3 separate regions of the Homo sapiens genome follow, and regions 1 and 3 are each linked to region 2. Evidence: promoter capture Hi-C in 16 types of primary human blood cells and fetal thymus (Javierre and others, 2016). All regions are on one chromosome and are shown on one strand. Each heading gives the region's core, a stretch centred on a gene start or on the middle of the fragment in contact. The rest is flanking DNA. Distances are from core to core; before and after follow the strand shown. Region 1 holds the start of PABPN1 (poly(A) binding protein nuclear 1). Region 2 holds the start of C14orf93 (chromosome 14 open reading frame 93). Region 3 overlaps DAD1 (defender against cell death 1).

The links. Contacts are between HindIII fragments. The CHiCAGO score rates a contact against its expected background, and 5 or more counts as called.
Region 1: the fragment with the promoter of PABPN1 here is called in contact with the fragment with the promoter of C14orf93 in region 2 in 1 of 17 cell types (neutrophils); the score reaches 5.3 in neutrophils.
Region 3: a contact is called between a fragment that was not itself captured here and the fragment with the promoter of C14orf93 in region 2, in 4 of 17 cell types (naive CD4 T cells, erythroblasts, total B cells and 1 more). The highest score is 7.6, in naive CD4 T cells.

The regions. Positions count from the first base shown.
Region 1 is chr14:23,318,962-23,323,152 of GRCh38, forward strand. PABPN1 (poly(A) binding protein nuclear 1) reads left to right here and starts at 2,496. Exons shown (of 7, transcript NM_004643.4): 1 at 2,496-2,859; 2 at 3,220-3,334; 3 at 4,038-4,105. The coding sequence starts at 2,509. BCL2L2-PABPN1 (BCL2L2-PABPN1 readthrough) reads left to right here. Exons shown (of 8, transcript NM_001387346.1): 4 at 3,220-3,334; 5 at 4,038-4,105. RefSeq lists enhancers at 1,587-2,237, 1,926-1,995, 2,249-3,060, 3,061-3,870 and silencers at 2,396-2,825, 2,886-2,955. The HindIII fragment of the contact is 8,249 bases long and covers 1-4,191 here.
Region 2 is chr14:23,008,295-23,012,459 of GRCh38, forward strand. C14orf93 (chromosome 14 open reading frame 93) reads right to left here and starts at 1,849. Exons shown (of 7, transcript NM_021944.4): 1 at 1,807-1,849. LOC124903286 (a long non-coding RNA gene) reads left to right here. Exons shown (of 2, transcript XR_007064075.1): 2 at 1-690. RefSeq lists an enhancer at 1-210 and a silencer at 1,838-2,187. The HindIII fragment of the contact is 8,647 bases long and covers 485-4,165 here.
Region 3 is chr14:22,561,881-22,566,050 of GRCh38, forward strand. DAD1 (defender against cell death 1) reads right to left here. Exons shown (of 3, transcript NM_001344.4): 3 at 3,027-3,257. Among named protein-coding and RNA genes, the nearest start is that of LINC02332, 6.9 kb to the left of the region's middle. RefSeq lists an enhancer at 31-110. The HindIII fragment of the contact is 384 bases long and covers 1,914-2,297 here.

The sequences.
Region 1 (4,191 bases), core at 1,246-3,745, 310 kb after region 2:
TATAATTATAGTTTGCTTAAACTTTTGTTTATTGTTGGAATTTAGTCTTGCCATTTTTCACACATAATTTTTATGTATTAAAGCAGGCCTTATAGTAGTAGTGATCTGAGCTTTGAAAGCTGGCTTTGAATTCCCTGCACATTATTATATATATTACATAATATATATTATGTATAATATATATATAATTTTTATTTTTTCCTTTGAGACAGAGTCTTGCTGTTGCCCAGGCGATTCTCCTGCCTCAGCCTCCCGAGCAGCTGGGTTTACAGGCATGTACCACCATGCCCAGCTAATTTTTGTATTTTTAGTAGAGATGGGGTTTCGCCATGTTGGCCAGGCTGGTCTGAAACTCCTGGGCTCAGGTGATCCTCCCGCCACAGCCTCCCAAAGAGCTGGGATAACAGGTGTGAGCCACCACGCCCAGCCAGCCCTGCACACTTCTAATTAGTCCAATGACTTAGGCAAGTTTCTTCATTTCATTAAGCCTTTTTCTTTTTCCCTAAAAAAGGTTATGGTTTTGGAAATACTTTCCCCGTGGGGTTGTTGTGAGAGTCCAGTGAAATAATAAGGAGTGGTGCTTATTACAAAATCAAACGCTCAACAAAAATAGGATTCAAAGCCATTTTTAAAAATCACATTTCCTTTTGTTGGCTTGATTAAATTGGGTACCAATAAGATTAACAAATCTTGATTAGGTTAAGATTAGTATAAAAGACCTTTCTTCCAGGGTATTCAATCATTTAGAGCTTGTCTTCGGTGCTCAACTTTAGTTATCCCAGATCACTGAAGCTGAGATGGCTGATGAAGTAATTTGCAGTGAAATTTTAAGCGACTGTGACTCTGCTGCAAGTTCCCCAGATCTTGAGGTAAGGAATTGTGAGAAAAAGTGGGGGTGAGGGGAATAGTGGGGTATAATGAGTCACTTGATTTTTTGGTTTGCTAATGAGGATCTTCTCTTGTCCAAATCCCTCGGCCAACCATGTTTGTTTAACTTTTTGGTTGGGCTATATGTATCTTTCGAACTGTAGGTTAGTGTGCCCACAAAAATTTCTCTTGCAAACGTACACTGCCATTCCTTTCTTTTTAATAAATGTGTAGGACTGCTACCAAAATATGGCAGTCCTGCCTTCCAGGGCTAGGTCTCATTGGTACTTGGGGTGCAGGGGTGTAGTGGGAACCTGCCAGGAGAAATTCCTCTGGGATCTTGGGGGCTTGAGGGCTTAAATGAAGGGTGGCACCCAAATCCCCAATCAATGCCTGTTCAATCAACAAACATCTAACAGGACATTATGTGGTAGGCATATTGCCAGGCCGTGGAGATGCGAATATAAATAGGAACCGGCCCCTCATCTGCAGGCGCTCACAACCTAGTTAGGAAACAGTAAAACAATTAAGCGCGCCGTGGAGATAGGCCCACTTGTCCTGGGAAATGAGGGGAAGCTGGGGTTTGCAGTGGTTTGATTGAAGGGGGACTACATGTTAGAGGCACAGACTGGGTGCAGGTACACCCAAAGGAACGAGAAGAGTGGAAGGAAACAACATCCACAAAGTAACCACATGCTGGCGTATCGAAGGCCGTGATTTACGGTTTTGAGACTTTACCTCGCCAGCAAAGGGGGGCCAGTCTGTTAGCGGTGCAGATTGGAGGGGTGACATTGGAAGCTGTCCAGGAAAAAGAAAATGGAACTGGGGAGCAGAAGGCCTACGCAAGAGGGCGGGACAGACAGGACTTGTGACTAGTAGCTCTGGACTGAGGAATCCTCCCTGCTTTCTGGTGCGGGAGAGCTAGTGGATGATGGTGCCAATAACCTGGATGGGGAAAGTAAGCTCCCTCCTGGAATGCTTCATTCACAACCTCCATTTTCAGCAACATCCCATCTACTGGTGCTTCCTGGTCGAGATACAAGTTTCCTGAAACTGCTGCTCTGTTTTGGGCCTCACCCGGCCAACAGCTCACTAGCTGGCAAGCAGTAGTATCAAGATGGCGGCCCCCTAGGACTGGCTAGTCATGTGACCTCGGGTTTCCCAAGTTTGAAGCCCGGCAGTCCTTTCGGGGGCAAGGTTCACCTGTCACGAAACGAGTGTCACCCCTTCGACTCTCGCAAGCCAATCGGCATCTGAGACTGGGCCACTGCGGTGAGGCGATCGGAAGATTGGTCCTTTCCAGTCGCCTAGCTAGGGCCAATCACGGAGCGTCCCATACTTCGCGGGCCCGCCCGTAGGCCGGGGAGAAGCAGGAATATCGTCACAGCGTGGCGGTATTATTACCTAAGGACTCGATAGGAGGTGGGACGCGTGTTGATTGACAGGCAGATTTCCCCTACCGGGATTTGAGAATTTGGCGCAGTGCCCCGCCTTAGAGGTGGGGCCTTATTTGATTGCCAAGTAATATTCCCCAATGGAGTACTAGCTCATGGTGACGGGCAGGCAGCTTGACTAATGAGTCCTCGGCGTGGCCGGCGCAGCTCTCCAATCGCCGGGCGGCGGGCCCCAGTCTGAGCGGCGATGGCGGCGGCGGCGGCGGCGGCAGCAGCAGCGGGGGCTGCGGGCGGTCGGGGCTCCGGGCCGGGGCGGCGGCGCCATCTTGTGCCCGGGGCCGGTGGGGAGGCCGGGGAGGGGGCCCCGGGGGGCGCAGGGGACTACGGGAACGGCCTGGAGTCTGAGGAACTGGAGCCTGAGGAGCTGCTGCTGGAGCCCGAGCCGGAGCCCGAGCCCGAAGAGGAGCCGCCCCGGCCCCGCGCCCCCCCGGGAGCTCCGGGCCCTGGGCCTGGTTCGGGAGCCCCCGGCAGCCAAGAGGAGGAGGAGGAGCCGGGACTGGTCGAGGGTGACCCGGGGGACGGCGCCATTGAGGACCCGGTGAGGGAAGGAGGGCGAGCGAGCAGGCCGGCGGCTGGCCGGCCGGGTCACTGGAGGCCCAGAGCTCGGGCGAGCGGGTGGCAGGCGGGGGGTGGGGTTGGGCGGGGAATAACGTGGCTGGGGCCGGGTCGGGCCGGGGATGGGTCAGCGATCACTACAAGGGGCCCGACTGGCTTGATTCGGGCGTCACGGTTGCCTAGTGTTGTTCTAGAGAGGGTAGCTTTTCTTTTATCACGACCCTCGCATGGGGCGAGGGAAATGGCCGAGCATGGCTGAGGCCGCGCTCTGGCCGAGAGCAGGGCACAGCCCCTGCGTTGGTTCCTCTTAAGCTGTCCTCCATACCCTCCCCACTTATATTAGGAGCTGGAAGCTATCAAAGCTCGAGTCAGGGAGATGGAGGAAGAAGCTGAGAAGCTAAAGGAGCTACAGAACGAGGTAGAGAAGCAGATGAATATGAGTCCACCTCCAGGCAATGGTGAGTAACTGGCGGTTGCACGCGGAGCCCGGGTTCTCGGGTTGGAAGGGTTGTGGGGAGGATGGGGAATGTGGGGTTAGATACTCGGCACCCTGGAGCTGCTTGTCTGAGCTATTATGACTGTGCCGCGGTCATAGTCCGTTGTGTGTTCCTCTGACCTTTGTGAGGCAGAACGTATATTTTGGTGGTGGTAGCCTTGTGCCTCCCTTTGTGCCTGTTATAATTGTGTTGCTCTTTGTTCTTAGTCTACGTCTATCTTTCTTTGTAGAGGTTGCGTGCTCGCATTTGACCTTCAAATCTAATAGTTTTTCCTCCAATTGGAGACGCTTTAGGATTCTAAGAGAAAGCAAGCTGCAAGGGGTTTCCCCTTTAATCTAGAAATGTGGAGTCTCAGCCCACTTAATTTTGCTCACTCTTAAAAGCATTTCAACCAAAGCCATTCATTAGGGATTTGATTTGGAGGCAGGAGGGATTCCTATACTGTTTTAAGTGTGTATTAATTCTTTCAATTTATTGAATATTTAGTGAGTACCTGCTATGCACTAGGCACTATTCTCGGTTGTGGGTACAGCAGGGAACAGCACAGACCAAAATCTTTGCCTTCACTGAGCTTATGGGATAGTGCTGGTGGTGGAAGTGCAACATATTGGTCAAGTAGAAAACAAGTGTGTGGTTTTTGTAAAAAATTATTTTTTCCTGATAGCTGGCCCGGTGATCATGTCCATTGAGGAGAAGATGGAGGCTGATGCCCGTTCCATCTATGTTGGCAATGTACGTACTGGGGCTCTGACTGGGGTTGGGGGCAAGTTCTTCTTTTGGGGAATTATTTAATAGTCCTGAAAGGAACATCTCCGGGA
Region 2 (4,165 bases), core at 599-3,098:
TCTGACTTGAATTGTTAGAGAATAAAAATACACTCAGCACAAGTAAGAAACCCAGAAAGCCCAAACAGGGCCACTTTTGTTATAAATTTGTACAAGTAACTTTATTGCAGTCAGTATTTAGGAGTCAAATACTGCTTGAAATAGAGTAGGATGCTAGCTGTGTAATAGAAATGCATTATTATACAGAAGTTTTGTTGTAATGAAATTTAAATTCTACAGTAGATTTTTTTTTTTGTCTCCTGGTTGTCACTGCATTTGTGACATTCCAGTTTCTCCCTCAGCACCTCATATACCTCCTATGCTTTCACTCCAATCTGCGAATACAAATTTGGATACAGATATTTTCCATACAACTTCTAATGAGGAGATAGTGATTCTGTAACAGAATGAAGTGAAAATAGGGCTCCTATAACAGGAGGTTCTGCTCTGCGAGCCTGTTTTTCTCTAATTCATATACTTTTTTCTGTGACTCTTAGAAATGAGAAGCTTTCCATTCTAAAAATGCAACATGATAACCAAAAGGCATTTCTTATCCCTTCTATTATTTGCCTTTGCATCCTCTTGGCTCCCCATCACCATCACCATGAACAGTTTTTGAGAATTACACTTGACTGGATTTTTTTCCTGATACTTTGCCAGCTGTGGAGCTTTTCGAATATTCCAACCAATAAACGACCATTTTGTCAAAAAGCCAAGAAAGAACTTCCCTTCTGAACACACCAACCAAACCACACATAAAGGCCAAAATATACACAGCTGTACACTTAAGAACGTGAGACAATAAAAAGCAAAACCACTTAGGCAAAACAGTCACTGAAGGCTTTGAACCACAGATTCAATAAATTGCCTACTCTCATTTGCCACATGGACTATATACTCCTTGGCAATTATTTAATTATTCATTATTCTGATCCTTTAGGAGCAGAAAAATATAGTAAATGCACATAGAAAGTGCCTAAGTATGCTAAGCATAGGATTTCTTCTAAGCTCTGCTTTGCACACAAAATATTTTGATCACATTTGGGAAGACAACGGAAAAAAATTCACATCCTAGGGGATACTTTGCACACATAAAACCAGATATATTTATCACTTTTGAAAATAAAATCTGATATGGCACATATACACACATATTGTACATATACACAAATAACCCCAAGTTATAACTTTACAAATTTGTTTCAAGAAACACACACACACACACACAAATGTTCTAATGAAAATGTGTGTGAAAGACACACTGTAATTAAGGTCTTTCCCCCTTCCCTAGGGAAATGAATGTCTCCATTATAATATCCCAATATTAACTTATTGGCCTTGGACAAGTGCCACATCCCAGCCACTTGGTTTTGGTTCTGGGGGGGTGGGTGTGTAAAAAGCACGCAAACGGCTTTATGAGGGAGCCTCAAATCTCTCTGCTTCCTTCGATGTTGCCTGTGGCAGAAATTTACATTATCCCTTCAGCCCGCTTAAAAAATTCTGTACTTCCCAAGCGGCTAAATTTTTAAAGTCCCTCAACCACAAAAATCTACCAGTTCTTAAAATGTGATTTAAAAAAAAGAAAAAAAAACTATAAATTTGGCCGGAAACGGTTGTACACGGCCATCCTGCTTCTCAACTTCTTGGTATATTTAAAACCTTGACCAGGAAAAAGAAAGAGGAAGAGAGACAGAAAAAGAAATGGGGGAAAGAGCAAATTCCCCTTAGCAACAGTTTCCTCACCCCAACACTGCTACAGATCTCTATTTTTAAAAAATTTGAAAACACACACAAGATTAAGGAGGAAAAAAAATGGAAAAAGGATACCCGAAGGTCGTATGGCTCTTTGTATTCGTGTGTGTGCAAAAAGGAGGACTCGCGGAGCCCGAGCCGGCAAGCCCCGCCCCTCCCCGGACGCCCTCCCGGATTGGCCGTCCGCGGCCGCGGGGCGCCCCGCCCGCAAGCACACGCGCCGCGCCCGAGGCGCCAACCCCGGAGTTGGGGGCGGGGGGGGCCCTGAGGGCCGCCGGACCCCCGACCCCCAACCTCGCCTGGACCTTGGCAGACCCCTTTCCCACCTCTCTCCCTTTCACTTTCTCACCGTCCTGTCACCCTTTCCCATCTTTTTTTCTCAGTGAAACAAGGCCCAGTCACCAGCATAACAATCCAGTGAGCGACCTCCGGACACTTTGTTAAATTGAGTGAACTAGTCAGTAACATTCTAGACTGCAATTAAACATCAGGGACTTGGTGCGTGGGCCCTACTCCGGTTTCCAGGTGAAATGTCTCTGGGTCACGTGTGTTGCTTAACACCCCCACGTTTAAATGAACATTCACGTATGGAACATCTTTCTGAAGTCTTACACTTCAGCCCGAGCTCCCAGTTTATCTACCTGGCTCAGACCACATTCTCAAAACTAAAGTGGCTCCTCTTTATTTCCAGGAAGACAGCTGGTATACCTGGATTTTAAGCCACCCATAATCTGGTCCCACCCACCTATTTGTTATTTATTTATTTATTTAGACAGAGTCTCGCTCTGTCACCCAGGCTGGAGTGCAGTGGTATGATCTTCGCTCACTGTAAACTCCGCCCCTCCGCCCCCACCCCCACCCCCACCCCCACCCCGCCCAAGCGATTCTCCTGCCTCAGCCTCCCAAGAAGCTGGGACTACAGGCGTGCGCCACTGCACCCAGCTAATTTTTTTTGTTTTTGGTAGAGACAGGGTTTCGCCATGTTGGCCAGGCTGGTCCTGAACTCCTGACTTGAGGTGATGTGCCCACCCTGCCTTTTTTTTTTTTTTTTCAGTGATGTGATCTCGGCTCACTGCAACCCCCACCTCCGAGGCTCAAGCGATTCTCCTGCCTCAGCCTCCCGAGTAGCTGGGATTACGGATATATGCCACCACGCCCGGCTATTTTTTTTTTTTAAGTAGTGACGGGGTTTCACCATGTTGGCCAGGCTGGTTTTGAGCTCTTGACCTCAAGTTATCCTCCCGCCTTGGCCTCCCAAAGTGCTGGGATTACAGGCGTGAGCCACCGCGCCTGGGCACATATTTGTTCTTAGTTCCCTCTACGCTCGTCTTATCAATCTTGTATTATTCCTTTACTCAAGTGGCTTTTTTTTTTTTTTTTGGCCTGAATTATGCGTCTCCCCTTCCCTGACTGGTCAATTTTTATCCATTCTCTTTCAGCACAGACTGCTTACTTCCTTCTCTCCGCTCCCATCAACATGAATTTCATGTGTACTCCAGTTAGCGGCACGTAACTCTACCTTGATTCACATATTTTAGTAATTTCACTCCAGTAAACTGTTTGAGGTCAGTGATCATATCTTAAAATTGTTTTTCCATCCAGGAACTGTTTGATTCTTACTGCAGTAGCTGGCATAATTGTAGATATTTAGTAAACACTGACCAAAAAAATCATTTATTTATTTATATTTATTTTTGAGCTGGAGTCTCGCTCTGTCGCCCAGGCTGGAGTGCAGTGGCCCGATCTCGGCTCACTGCAAGCTCCACCTCCCAGGTTCACGCCATTCTCCTGCCCCAGCCTCCCGAGTAGCTGGGACTACAGGCGCCCGCCACCAAGTCTGGCTAATTTTTTGTATTTTTAGTAGAGACGGGGTTTCACCGTGTTAGTCAGGATGGTCTGGATCTCTTGACCTCGTGATCCACCAGCCTCAGCCTCCCAAAGTGCTGGGATTACAGGCGTGAGCCACCATGCCGGGCCAAAAATCATTTATGATCAAATAAGTGAATTTCTTTTCTAGCTAAAACACAGATTCTGAAACTCACATCTCACAAGAATTTCCCTTCTATAGTAAGTAGCAATTTGTGAACACTTATTGTGCAGGAAGTAACTGTTCTGAACACTTTATGTGCATCAATTTAGGTATTATTATTATTATTTTTTTTTTTTATTTTTTATTTTTCGAGACAGAGTCTTTCTCTGTCGTCCAGGCAGGCGGATCACGAGGTCAGGAGTTCGAGACCAGACTGACCAACATGGTGAAACCCCGTCTCTGCTAAAAATACAAAAAGTTAGCTGGGCATCGTAATGCGCACCTGTAGTCCCAGCTACTTGGGAGGCTGAGGTAGGAGAATTGCTTGAACCCAGGAGGCAGAGGTTGCAGTGAGCCAAGATTGCGCCACTGCACTCCAGGCTGGAGGACAGAGCGAGACTCCAT
Region 3 (4,170 bases), core at 856-3,355, 450 kb before region 2:
GGCTTCCCACCACTGCAAAGAATGGCAGGGAATAGACTTTCCACAGTGTTTGTGGTGAATGGCTTCCGGCCCCATAAAAGAGCACAGAAAATAAAAATAAACCACCCCATAGAGGTGTTGAGCAAGGGGGAGCAGGAAATGCTAGGGTCTACCTCACTCTCCATGCAGTAGTACTCAAAATCAACTCCTTCAACATACTTCAGCTGAAAAAACACCTAAGAATCAGAAACGCAATGGGGCTTGGGGGTGTGTCTTTAAGTTCAAGACAGGGTCTTGTTCTGTTGCCCAGACTGAAGCGCAGTGGTGCAATCATGCAGTCTCTACCTCCTGGGATCAAGTGACTCTCCAAACTCAGCCTCCCGAGTAGCTGGGACTACAGAGGTGCACTGCCACGCCCAGCTAATTTTTTTAATTTTTGTAGAGACAGGGACTCACTGTGTTGCCCAGGCTGGTCTTGAACTCCTGGGTTCAAGCCATTCTTCCACCTTGGCCTCCCAAAGTTCTGGGATTACAGGTGTAAGCCACTGAGCACCTGGCGCTTTTTCAGTGTTGTCTTTTTTTTTTTTCTTTTTGTGATGAAGTTTCGCTTCTGTTGCCCAGGGTGGAGTGCAATGGCACAATCTCGGCTCACTGCAACCTCCGCCTACCAGGTTCTAGCAATTCTCCTGTCTCAGACTCCTGAGTAGCTGGGATTACAGGCTCATGCCACCACGCCTGGCTAATTTTTGTATTTTTAGTAGAGACAGGGTTTCATCATATTGGTCAGGCTGGTCTCCTGACCTCAGGTGATCCACCCACCTCGGCCTCCCAAAGTGCTGGGATTTACAGGCATGAACCACCATGCCTGGCCTCTTTTAAGAACAGGGTCTTACATTGTTGCCCAGGCTGGAGTGCAGCGGCTACTCACAGGTCCACAGCTAATTCTTCAGTACATGTCAAATTGAGAACCATAAAGCAAATCAACAGAAGCATAAAAACAAGAGTTACCTATAATGAGCCTTTAACTAAATCTAATCCCAACACTCCAAAAGCAGTCTGTAGGTTTTAGCCCCGAAGCAAATATTGAAAAGACACACCAAAGAAGAATGTTTCCTGTTGATGGTAACTGGCTTGGGTAAATCACAACCTCTGAGACAATAGCTGACCTGGTAAATGGGAATTTAATACCTGTCCCATGTATCTCAAGATCATTATGAAAAATTAAACAAAACCTATGTATTAAAGACTGCAATTACAATGTCTTCCTTCATAAAATTACTATTATTCCCAGTTTTCAACCCGTGTCTCAAAGTCCAGATGCTTTTCTTATTCAAAATTCCAATTTCTCTAGACTAAAAATTATCCAGAAGCCTCCTGATAGGGTCTGTGACATCTGTATATAAGTTTTAGAACAGATTAGGCCAGGCACAGTGGCTCACGCCTATAATCCCAGCACTTTGGGAGGCTGAGGCGGGCAGATCACCTGAGGTCAGGAGTTTGAGACCAGCCTGACCAACATGGAGAAACCCTGTCTCTACTAAAAATACAAAAATTAGCCGGGCATGTTGGTGTGCACCTATAATCCCAGCTACTCGGGAGGCTGGGGTGGGAGAATTGCTTGAACCCAGGAGGCGGAGGTTGCAGTGAGCCGAGATCACACCATTGCACTCCAGCCTGGGTAACGAGAGCAAAACTCCATCTCACAAAAACAAAAAAGAAAAAAAAAAGTGCAGATTAAACTGCTCAGTTATAATCTCAATGAACTAGTATCACTTAAGAATGGCAAACCATGACCCACATAGCCACAACCAATTTTTATAAATAAAGTGATAGTGGAATATAGCCATGCCCATTTGTTTAAGGAAAAGCTTGCGGACTCCTGACTCAGTGTGTTACCAGTTAGGCAGAGAGCTAATAAGAAACATACAGGCCCAAGCTTTTCACCAAGTTCCTAGGTAATCTTGAGACATGCCAAACTTTGAGAACCACTGCTGTAGATGAGAGATTCTCAAATCTTATTGTGCACATAAATCACCGGAGGACCTTGTTAAAATGAAGATGTTGCTTCTGTAGGTTTGGGGTGAGGCCTGTGCTCCCAGGCGATGCCAATACTGGTAGTCAATGACTACATTTTGAGTAGCAAGAATCCAGAGCAGTGTTTCTCCAATTTGCTGTGCTCTGGAATCACCTGGGTAGCTTTACAAACTACAGAAGCCACCCCAAGAGATTTTTACTTAATTGGTGTGGGTTGTGGCCTGGACGTTGGGATTTTCTTTTTACATTACCCAAGTCATGCTAACGTGCAGCCAAGTTGGAGAAGCTTGAAACTCATCATTCTCGGTAGTTGGCTAAATTTAAGTAGTGGCATTCTCAACATAGCTTCCGCCCCATATATAGCAACCCAACAGCACCCAAGATGAAAACAGGGCTGCGAACATGACAGACTTCAGCCAGCAGACCTACATTCCATCCAAGCTTTGTCATGAACTCTGATCTTAAGCAAGTCACAAATCTGAGTTTCAATTTCTTCACCTAACTAATGAGGACAGGAACCCCTAAGATAATTGCAAGAATAAAATGAGAGAATATTTGTGAAGGTGCTTTGGAAAATATTGTATCTTATAAGTCAACACATACATAACCCCCATTTTTCACTCTGTCTACATTGCCTAAGAGAAATATATTTCACTTTTACCACTAAAACATGTTGAAACAGATGTAAATGTGGTAGCACATACTTAGTTCAATTTCTAGCAGAGTGCATAATGATGCAGTTCCAGGAATGCACTGTCATAAGAGTGGAAGCACCTGTAACAATCGAAGGATTAGTAAAGGATTACCTGCTCCAGGAAGAAGACAAAGGACTGCCATTTCCCAGGGTTGTCAGCACTGCCTTTTGCCATTAACTTCAAATATACTTAATGAAAACAAGGAGGCAGGTTCACAGCTGTAAGTTACCAACTCATAAAGAGTTCAGCACAGAGGACTGAAGAGAAAAAAAGGATTCTGATACCAGCAAAGAATAAAAACAGAGCCAGAGGCATATGGAGGAGTGGCATGGAGTTCTTTAATTTGGAAGGCAAAAGGTTACATTTAATGAAAGGCAGAGGCTGGATTAATAAATGTTTGTTAGAAAGTTGTTCTGACACACAGTGAACTCTGGGCTTTTCTCCTGCATAAAAAGCAGAGCTAGCAGTAAGTGCAAATCTGAAGAAAATCCATGTGTCCAATAAGCTGCCATCTCCAGAACTCTTATCCAGGAAATTCAAAGAGTGAACCTAGAAGAAAAAAGCAGCAAGGTTAAATGTCTTATGATACTAGAGACAGGGCCCCAAATCCTTCCATCTAAATTCTAACCCACAAGACAGTTATGGGGTTCCCACACTCAGGACAATATTTAAACCAGGCGAGAAAAACTAGAAAGAAGCAAGTATTTTTCAAAGAACATTTTATGGGAGTAGTATCCAGAAAAATTAATGTCAAAACTGAATTTCAAGCACATCAAAGCAAAACGAACTAGGAACTGTGAGACATGTGTCCTAACTCCAGCTCTACCATTAATTAGCCGCAAGACTTCACATAAGTCACTGACTTCCCTGGCCCACAAATTCTTTGAGGTGAGAGGGTTGTAGTTTAACCTAAAGAGCTTTCTGGAATCTAAAATGCTTATGAAGCACAGATTTCCATTGGTGGGGAGGCAGGGTAGGGAAGTAAGGATTCAAGAAAGAAAGAAAAATTCCCAATCTCAGCTATAACAAAGGACCAAAATATAAGAAATAATTTAGTTTTCATTTAAAGATAAGTTTATTTTTGGCAAGAAAAAGGTGAAGAAAGAGTAACCGCAACAGAAGTGGCCACATTGCTGCTAGAGCCAAATGGAACTGAGATCTGTAACTTGTGAGGTGGAACCCTCACCACAAGATACAGGCTTCCTTTAGTCCCTCAAAGCACAGCCTCCCACCTACTGGACTCCAGCACAGCTCTGGTTGGAAAGTGACCTCCAGCCTTAGGGGCTCCAATGTCTCCAGCTATAAGCAACTGATTTTCCCAGTGTGCCATAAAAATACTGCAATCTCCTACGTGTACCATGACTCAAAAGAGGCTGGGAAATACTACCTTTCAGAAGAACCGGGCTGCCCCAGGAGGAAAAAGGGCACTACCTTATTTGGTATATTGGGTCAAGTAAGTAAC